Linked DNA regions of Homo sapiens: regions 2 and 3 are each linked to region 1. The links are contacts of gene promoters, found by promoter capture Hi-C in blood cells and fetal thymus (Javierre and others, 2016). All regions are on one chromosome and are shown on one strand. Each heading gives the region's core, a stretch centred on a gene start or on the middle of the fragment in contact. The rest is flanking DNA. Distances are from core to core; before and after follow the strand shown. Region 1 holds the start of OR10AD1 (olfactory receptor family 10 subfamily AD member 1). Region 2 has its middle 14 kb from the start of OR8S1. Region 3 holds the start of LALBA (lactalbumin alpha).

Region 1 (2,700 bases), core at 92-2,591:
AGGAGAGGAGAAAATAAAGAGAAATGGTTGGCAGAACTGAAAGTTAAGCAGGAATATACTTATCATCTATAAGCATCTGAAGATGAGGATGGGTGCAGTAGCTCACATCTGTAATCCCAGCACTTTGGGAGGCCAAGGCAGGAGAATCACTTAAAGCCAGAAGTTCAAGACCAGCACAGGTGACATAGTGAGTACCTGTCTCTATAAATTCTTAAAAAAAAAAAAAAAAGTATAAGCATCTGAAGGTGGAAGGGATCTGATACATCTTAGCTCCAAAACAACATGAAAAGTATAAGACAGACTTAATATGAACATAACAACTTCCTAAAAGTTACAATAGAGAGATAAGAGCATAAGAATTGTGACCGCTCATTCTTTGAAAATGGAAAAAGAACAAGATTTGTTGCCAGAGACAAAGAGACAGTTGAAAGTTCTCTGAAGGTCCATTCTAGAAAGGTTAGATATATGCCCTGCTCATAGCTTCCCTTTTCACACAGGGATGGTTGGATCCTTTCCACCCAATTGTGTGTAACCGTAAATTCCAGCCCCAGGAGGAAAACCATCTCCTATTAGGAAGGCATGCATGAGCCCCCACCCAGCCCTCAGCTCCAGCATGCACAGCATGGGTGGCTGCGGTAGCAGCAGCAACTGCTGGGCGAGTGAGTCTGGGAAGAGGTGGGTGACTGGGAAGAGCTTGACATGACTGTCTCCAAAAAGGTGCAAATCACTGTTAGCTGAGGGACAATTGTGAGGATTAGAATGTTTTTATTTTCCCTGAAACTTCAACCCATTCATCATTTTAAATTAGGTACACAGAGGTTGAGCATTTTTGCTTCTAGAAAAATACACCTTCAAATATCTCAAGTGCTTCCTAAATACAATCTTCTATAACCTGATAGCCACCAGCCCTTTCCCTCACACACTCCATTCTTCAATTCCTAAAACTTTTCCTCAGTTGGCATGGTCCCAGACCCAATTATCTTATTTTTTCACCTCTGAATACATCCTGGTTAATGGCTAATCCTTCAATATTGAGGGCTCTGGAGCAGATGCAATACTTCACTTGATGCCTGATGAAACCAGAGTAAAGAACATTACAACCAGCACTTTCTTCATCTGTTGATATTATGATTCTATGTATGCAGCCTGTGATGACCCTGGCATTTTCACCACCCCGTAACACTGCCAAATTACTAGTTTACTAAGTTCCAAAAGGTTGACCACCATTCATCCATCCTGTTTTATAATTGGGCTTCTGGGACCAAGTGGGTACCTTCTATTACCCCACAGCTATACCCTTGTGCTTTTCCCATCATCTTTCCTCCTCAAACAGGCCCCAGATGCTAAGGAATGGCAGCATAGTGACGGAATTTATCCTCGTGGGCTTTCAGCAGAGCTCCACTTCCACACGAGCATTGCTCTTTGCCCTCTTCTTGGCCCTCTACAGCCTCACCATGGCCATGAATGGCCTCATCATCTTTATCACCTCCTGGACAGACCCCAAGCTCAACAGCCCCATGTACTTCTTCCTCGGCCATCTGTCTCTCCTGGATGTCTGCTTCATCACCACTACCATCCCACAGATGTTGATCCACCTCGTGGTCAGGGACCACATTGTCTCCTTTGTATGTTGCATGACCCAGATGTACTTTGTCTTCTGTGTTGGTGTGGCCGAGTGCATCCTCTTGGCTTTCATGGCCTATGACCGTTATGTTGCTATCTGCTACCCACTTAACTATGTCCCGATCATAAGCCAGAAGGTCTGTGTCAGGCTTGTGGGAACTGCCTGGTTCTTTGGGCTGATCAATGGCATCTTTCTCGAGTATATTTCATTCCGAGAGCCCTTCCGCAGAGACAACCACATAGAAAGCTTCTTCTGTGAGGCCCCCATAGTGATTGGCCTCTCTTGTGGGGACCCTCAGTTTAGTCTGTGGGCAATCTTTGCCGATGCCATCGTGGTAATTCTCAGCCCCATGGTGCTCACTGTCACTTCCTATGTGCACATCCTGGCCACCATCCTCAGCAAAGCCTCCTCCTCAGGTCGGGGGAAGACTTTCTCTACTTGTGCCTCTCACCTGACTGTGGTCATCTTTCTCTACACTTCAGCTATGTTCTCTTACATGAACCCCCACAGCACACATGGGCCTGACAAAGACAAACCTTTCTCCCTCCTGTACACCATCATTACCCCCATGTGCAACCCCATCATTTATAGTTTCCGCAACAAGGAAATTAAGGAGGCCATGGTGAGGGCACTTGGAAGAACCAGGCTGGCCCAGCCACAGTCTGTCTAGCAGGAAGGCCCTGAAAGGAAAGCTCCTTCACCTGGGGAATGGGAGAGTTACCCCATCCCCAGCCCTGGCAGATGAGTAACTCTCCTATGCTGAAAGGCTCCAGGAAAGAGCGTTCATGGCTTCCTTGGCACTAGAATCAGACCTGAAAGTTCCTCCTGATGTCCAATGTCCTGATGTTATCTCTCTGACTTCACTTCCACATTGTTTTTTCTTGGACCTTCCTCGGGAGAATTTCGGATTTTCCTTAGTTTTTTTCCTCAGTTTCTTTTCCTCTTAAGTTCTCACAACAGGATTCAATAAATAAGTGCACTTAACTCCATTTTATTTGTATATACCTTTACATGCTAGTCCCCCAACCTGAGTTTCGTACATACATTTAGAAATAAACTCTTTTATTTTTCAGCTC
Region 2 (2,700 bases), core at 189-2,688, 340 kb before region 1:
CAAAAAGTTTTGAATTTTGGAGAATTTTGGATTAGGAATCCTCAAACTGTATTAATTTATCTTTCAAGCTTCTGTTTATGTCTGAAGCAAAAATTTAATTCAGTCATGTTAAGTATGAACTCAGTGGAAAATTCTGTGATTTCTCAGTCATTTAAGGTTTCATAACTATACATTAAGATTTTCCCCTTCTTGTCTCTTACTGGGGGTTGATGTTATGCTGACCCTAGAGTAACTGTGGTGTTGGTGACCACAGGCATCTACTCACTGGTGGCCTGCCTTGGTTCTATGCTGATTTCCTGCTCCACATGTGACTCATCCCCTCTGGCCCTCAGGTGTGGCCCTCTCTCTCCTGGTAATCTAGCATGGCGTAGATGATCCTTATCCAGTTGCTGGCAAGGCTGTCCAAGGCATATTTGCTAAGTCAATTTCCTTTTGTTCTGGTCATAAGACCCTTTGTGGGTGTAGTATACTATTAGAGACATACTGTGGCTACAAGATTAACAATAACCATAAGGCCCACTCAAATATCACACATGGCCCACACTATATGTCACTTAGCAGTATGATGCAAGGTGGCCTGGGGATTTCCAACTCTGGCCAGAGTATTACTAGGACAAGTTGCATCATCATATATAGTGTAGGTCCTGTGAGATGTTTGAGTGGGCCTTATGGTTATCATTAATCTTACAGCTGCAATATGTGTCTTATAGTATACTACAGTGGGCTGCTAACTCTCTCGTAAGCTGACATTCTTTTTTTTTTTTTTTTTTTGAGATGGAATCTCCCTCTGTCACCTAGGCTGGAGTGCAGTGGCGCAATCTTGGCTCACTGCAACCTCCGCCTCCCGGGTTCAAGCGATTCTTCTGCCTCAGCGTCCCGAGTAGCTGGGACTACAGGTGTGCGTTACCATGCCCGGCTAATTTTTGTATTCTTAGTAGAGACGGGGTTTCGCCATACACGCCAGGCTGATCTTGAACTCCTGACCTCATGATCTGCCCTCCTCAGCCTCCCAAAGTGCTGGGATTACAGGTAGGAGCCACCGCACCCGGCCTGTAAGCTGACATTCTTGCCCTACTAGTAGTCACTGCCTTCCCCTGTCATTCTAAGGCTAAGGGGAACTCAGGAAAGGATCTCTTACCTCTTATACCTGTACAATTCATTCTTCCATTTCTTGTTCATAGTGGTTGCACCATATTTTGCAGGGAAGTTCTCAAGGGACTTGCCATTTTTCTGGGTCCCAACTAACCTTATGATGATAAGAAAGAGAGAGGACATGTTTTGGGGAATGAAAACATGATGCTTACCATTTAGCTCATTTAGCTATGCTCATTTTTCTGCCCAAGTCCACTTCTCATTTCTCTTTTCATGTACTCTTTAGGGACCAACCTGAGTGGGAACAGAGGTGAAGCCAAGGCTTAAGAGTGGTGGCAGCAAGAGAACTCCCACGATTGCTAGTCATGCTAATTTAGCCTTTCCACCATTTTCCTTTCCTTTGGAGTTTGATGGATACTTTCTGTGTAAAGGGAAAGGATACTTAACCTAAACTATTGATTGTTCCACCACTTGAGTTCTAGGGCTATTGTAATAAGTCAGAGTTAAGTAGAGAAGCCTGACCCTTCTGAAATGTCTACTGAATTCTATTCCCAAACCACTTGTATCACATATAGTATGGTATCACTGGATCAGAAGGGAGTCAGTGATTGCCTGCCTTATTTCCTCTCCCTTCTGACACTTATCCCCACCCCAAACACTTGTAATTCTTTTCAAATGAGATTCAGTGTTTTTGTGGGGTCATTCCTATGGGTCTGAGATGTAAACACAGATACCTAGGCACAGTGACTGCGTTGAGGGGTCATCTGAAGGCATGCAGCCTCCTTGTATATCCTCATTCTTAAATAGGAAAAATAAATGTCTTTTCAATATTTCATTAAATACACCAATACATCCTTCCCCCCAGCTTTTATGAGGTATAATTGATGAACAAAAATTGTATATATTTAAGATATGCAAACTGATATTTTGATATATGTATACATTGTGAAATAATCACCGTAATGGAGCTAATTAACATATCCATCATCTCCATACTGCTTTTCATAGAGGTTGTACTAATTTACATTCCCACCAACAGTGTATAAGCATTCCCTTTTCTCTGCATCCTCACCAACATCAGTTATTTTTTGTCCTTTGAATTCTAGCCATTCTGACTGGTGTAAGATGATATCTTATTGCAATTTTAATTTGTATTTCTCTGATGATGAGTGACGTTGAGCATTTTTTCCTATACTTGTTGGCCATTCATATGTCTTCTTTTGCAAAATATCTATTTACATCCTTCTTTCACTTTTTTTTTTTTTTTGAGATAGAGTCTTGCTCTGTCACCCAGACTGGAGTGCAGTAGTGCAATCATAGCTCACTGCACCCTCAACCTCCTGGGCTCAAGTGATCCTCCCACCTCAGCCTCCCCAGTAGCTGGAACCACAGACTCACACCACCATGCCCAGCTAACTTTTTAATTTTAATAGAGACGGGGTCTTGCTACATTGCCCAGGCTGGTCTTGAACTCCCGGCTCAAGTGATCCTCCTGCCTCGATGTCCAGATGTGTTGGGATTGCAGGCATGAGCCACTGCACCTGGCCATTTGCCCACTTTTAAATAGGATTATTTGTTTTTGTTGTTGTTGTTTGCATTCCTTGTACA
Region 3 (2,700 bases), core at 41-2,540, 370 kb before region 1:
GATGCTTCCATTTCAGGTTCTTGGGGGTAGCCAAAATGAGGTTCTTTGTCCCTCTGTTCCTGGTGGGCATCCTGTTCCCTGCCATCCTGGCCAAGCAATTCACAAAATGTGAGCTGTCCCAGCTGCTGAAAGACATAGATGGTTATGGAGGCATCGCTTTGCCTGAATGTGAGTTCCCTGCCTCTGTGTTTCATCCATTCCTCATACGCTTCTCTCCTCCATCCCCTCTTTCTTCCACTTCGCCCCTCCACTTTTACTTAATTATCTAATCATCCTCTTTTCTGCTCATTTGCATACTCTTTTATTTCATGTATGTATATATGTATGTATTTATTTATTTTTGAGGTGGAGTTTCGCTCTTGTTGCCCAGACTGGAGTGCAATGGTGTAATCTCGGCTCACTGCAACCTCCGCCTCCTCGGTTCAAGTGATTCTCCTGCCTCAGCCTCCCAAGTAGCTGGAATTACAGGCACCCACCACCATGCCTGGCTAATTTTGTATTTTTTGTAGAGACAGGGTTTCACCATGTTGGCCAGGCTGGTCTCAAACTTCTGACCTCAGGTGATCCGCCCTCCTCAGCCTCCCAAAGTGTTGGGATTACAAGCGTGAGCCATCATGCCTGGCCCCATTTATTTTCCTATCCTTTCTTTCTCTTATTGTCTGATTTTTTTTTGGAATTCTCCATCTCATCAAGAAACTCTGAGCTTTGCCATCTTTGGAGATTGGCTGGAAAGCATTTTTGTCTGAGAATTACAGTTCCTCCTTTATGCAGATCCTGTACATCTCTGTGGTATCTCTTTCTCATCTTTCCCTCAGTGATCTGTACCATGTTTCACACCAGTGGTTATGACACACAAGCCATAGTTGAAAACAATGAAAGCACGGAATATGGACTCTTCCAGATCAGTAATAAGCTTTGGTGCAAGAGCAGCCAGGTCCCTCAGTCAAGGAACATCTGTGACATCTCCTGTGACAGTGAGTAGCCCCTATAACCCTCTTTCTCTGTTTTTCTGAGGCCTGCCCTTGGGATAATCTCCTTTTTAGTGCCAAGCAGACCTCAGGCTTCATTGCCTTGGCTGGGCTCTATAAAAATTGTGGGACTTGAATTGGCAGTACTGAGTAAGAAGCTGTTTGGATTTTTCATGGTCATCAAATCCCCAGACAGTTCCTTGAGGTTCAGTGGTAGACAATCGGAGCTGTCTGAGAGTCTTGGAATCTGATTGTCTGCATTTTCAGGGTAAGTCAGTTGATGAAGCTGATGATTCCTCCAGAGATATCCCAGGGAAATGAAGGAAGTCCCTACCCAGGGTTAGACATTACCACATTGGTCCTTTCATATAGAAAGACAACAGGCACAAGCCTTGAGTTTAGAGAACCCACTGGATCCAGGGGTTAGGGGAACTCAGTGCCTTTCTGGGTAATACTTGTCAGCTGTCTCAATCCTTTCCCTGTAACTCCTGCCAGAGTTCCTGGATGATGACATTACTGATGACATAATGTGTGCCAAGAAGATCCTGGATATTAAAGGAATTGACTACTGGTGAATCCTTATTCTATTTTCTATTTCCCCATCCTCCTTCTCCTTACCCCATTAGCCCAGCACCCCTTTCCTCTTACCCTATCTCTTGGTCATTTAATCTAGAATACAGTGTCTGAAACAAAGCTTACCTAGAGACTCAGGTTTCTGTTATTAAGCCTCTCTCGCTCCGCTCCTTGGTAGCAATTTTCCTAATAAGGGGTTGCCTAATGGAGGGCTCAGACCCAGGCCTCCTTTCACTTAGACTTGGACATCTAATTCCACTTGTTTAGTTCTATGCCCTAAAGCAAGCTGTTGGTAACATTGCATCTCTTTTTTAACCCTACAATTTTCTTGGATATTTTTTATGGACTGTATTCCACTTGATGGCTTGTGTCGCTTGACATCAGGCCAGGAATGTCTTTCTGTAATTCTCGTCCACGCTCTTCCACTTCAGCCCTCCTGGGAATGAATGTAAAGATTCAGTCAGCTAACTCACCTTGTCCCCCTTCTCCATTATCAGGTTGGCCCATAAAGCCCTCTGCACTGAGAAGCTGGAACAGTGGCTTTGTGAGAAGTTGTGAGTGTCTGCTGTCCTTGGCACCCCTGCCCACTCCACACTCCTGGAATACCTCTTCCCTAATGCCACCTCAGTTTGTTTCTTTCTGTTCCCCCAAAGCTTATCTGTCTCTGAGCCTTGGGCCCTGTAGTGACATCACCGAATTCTTGAAGACTATTTTCCAGGGATGCCTGAGTGGTGCACTGAGCTCTAGACCCTTACTCAGTGCCTTCGATGGCACTTTCACTACAGCACAGATTTCACCTCTGTCTTGAATAAAGGTCCCACTTTGAAGTCACTGGCTGTAATTTTTTTCCCCCTGGAGGGAAGGGGAAGAAATAGGATGAGTAGGTGGACACTGAAGCCATAGGTCATAGCCACCTTCCATCTCTACTGAAGAAGAAGTAGGCTGAATTTACAATAGAAAGGTGAAGGTTACTGTCTGTACCAACTCAATGCAACAAACTTTTATTGATCACCTAATCTATTCAAGGAACTGTAGACGGATCCAAAGTTGGCTAAACACTGGCCGGGTGCAGTGCTTCCACCTGTAATTCCAGCACTTTGGAAGGCTGAGGTGGGCAGATTGCTTGAGGTCAGGAGTTTGAGACCAGCTTGGCTAACAG

Evidence for each region. The method cuts DNA at HindIII sites, captures the fragments that hold promoters and counts their contacts. A CHiCAGO score of 5 or more calls a contact.
Region 2: a fragment that was not itself captured here is called in contact with the fragment with the promoter of OR10AD1 in region 1 in 1 of 17 cell types (endothelial precursors); the score reaches 5.2 in endothelial precursors.
Region 3: a fragment that was not itself captured here is called in contact with the fragment with the promoter of OR10AD1 in region 1 in 1 of 17 cell types (endothelial precursors); the score reaches 5.7 in endothelial precursors.

Annotation. Positions count from the first base shown.
Region 1 is chr12:48,201,933-48,204,632 of GRCh38, reverse strand. OR10AD1 (olfactory receptor family 10 subfamily AD member 1) reads left to right here and starts at 1,341. Exons shown (of 1, transcript NM_001004134.1): 1 at 1,341-2,294. The coding sequence starts at 1,341. The coding sequence ends at 2,294. All of the region lies in intron 1 of LOC102725258 (a long non-coding RNA gene), which reads right to left. The HindIII fragment of the contact is 3,232 bases long and covers 1-1,872 here.
Region 2 is chr12:48,538,172-48,540,871 of GRCh38, reverse strand. No RefSeq gene overlaps it. Among named protein-coding and RNA genes, the nearest start is that of OR8S1, 14 kb to the right of the region's middle. The HindIII fragment of the contact is 2,735 bases long and covers 71-2,700 here.
Region 3 is chr12:48,567,356-48,570,055 of GRCh38, reverse strand. It overlaps LALBA (lactalbumin alpha), which reads left to right and starts at 10. Exons shown (of 4, transcript NM_002289.3): 1 at 10-168; 2 at 816-974; 3 at 1,464-1,539; 4 at 2,039-2,372. The coding sequence starts at 36. The coding sequence ends at 2,099. The HindIII fragment of the contact is 749 bases long and covers 916-1,664 here.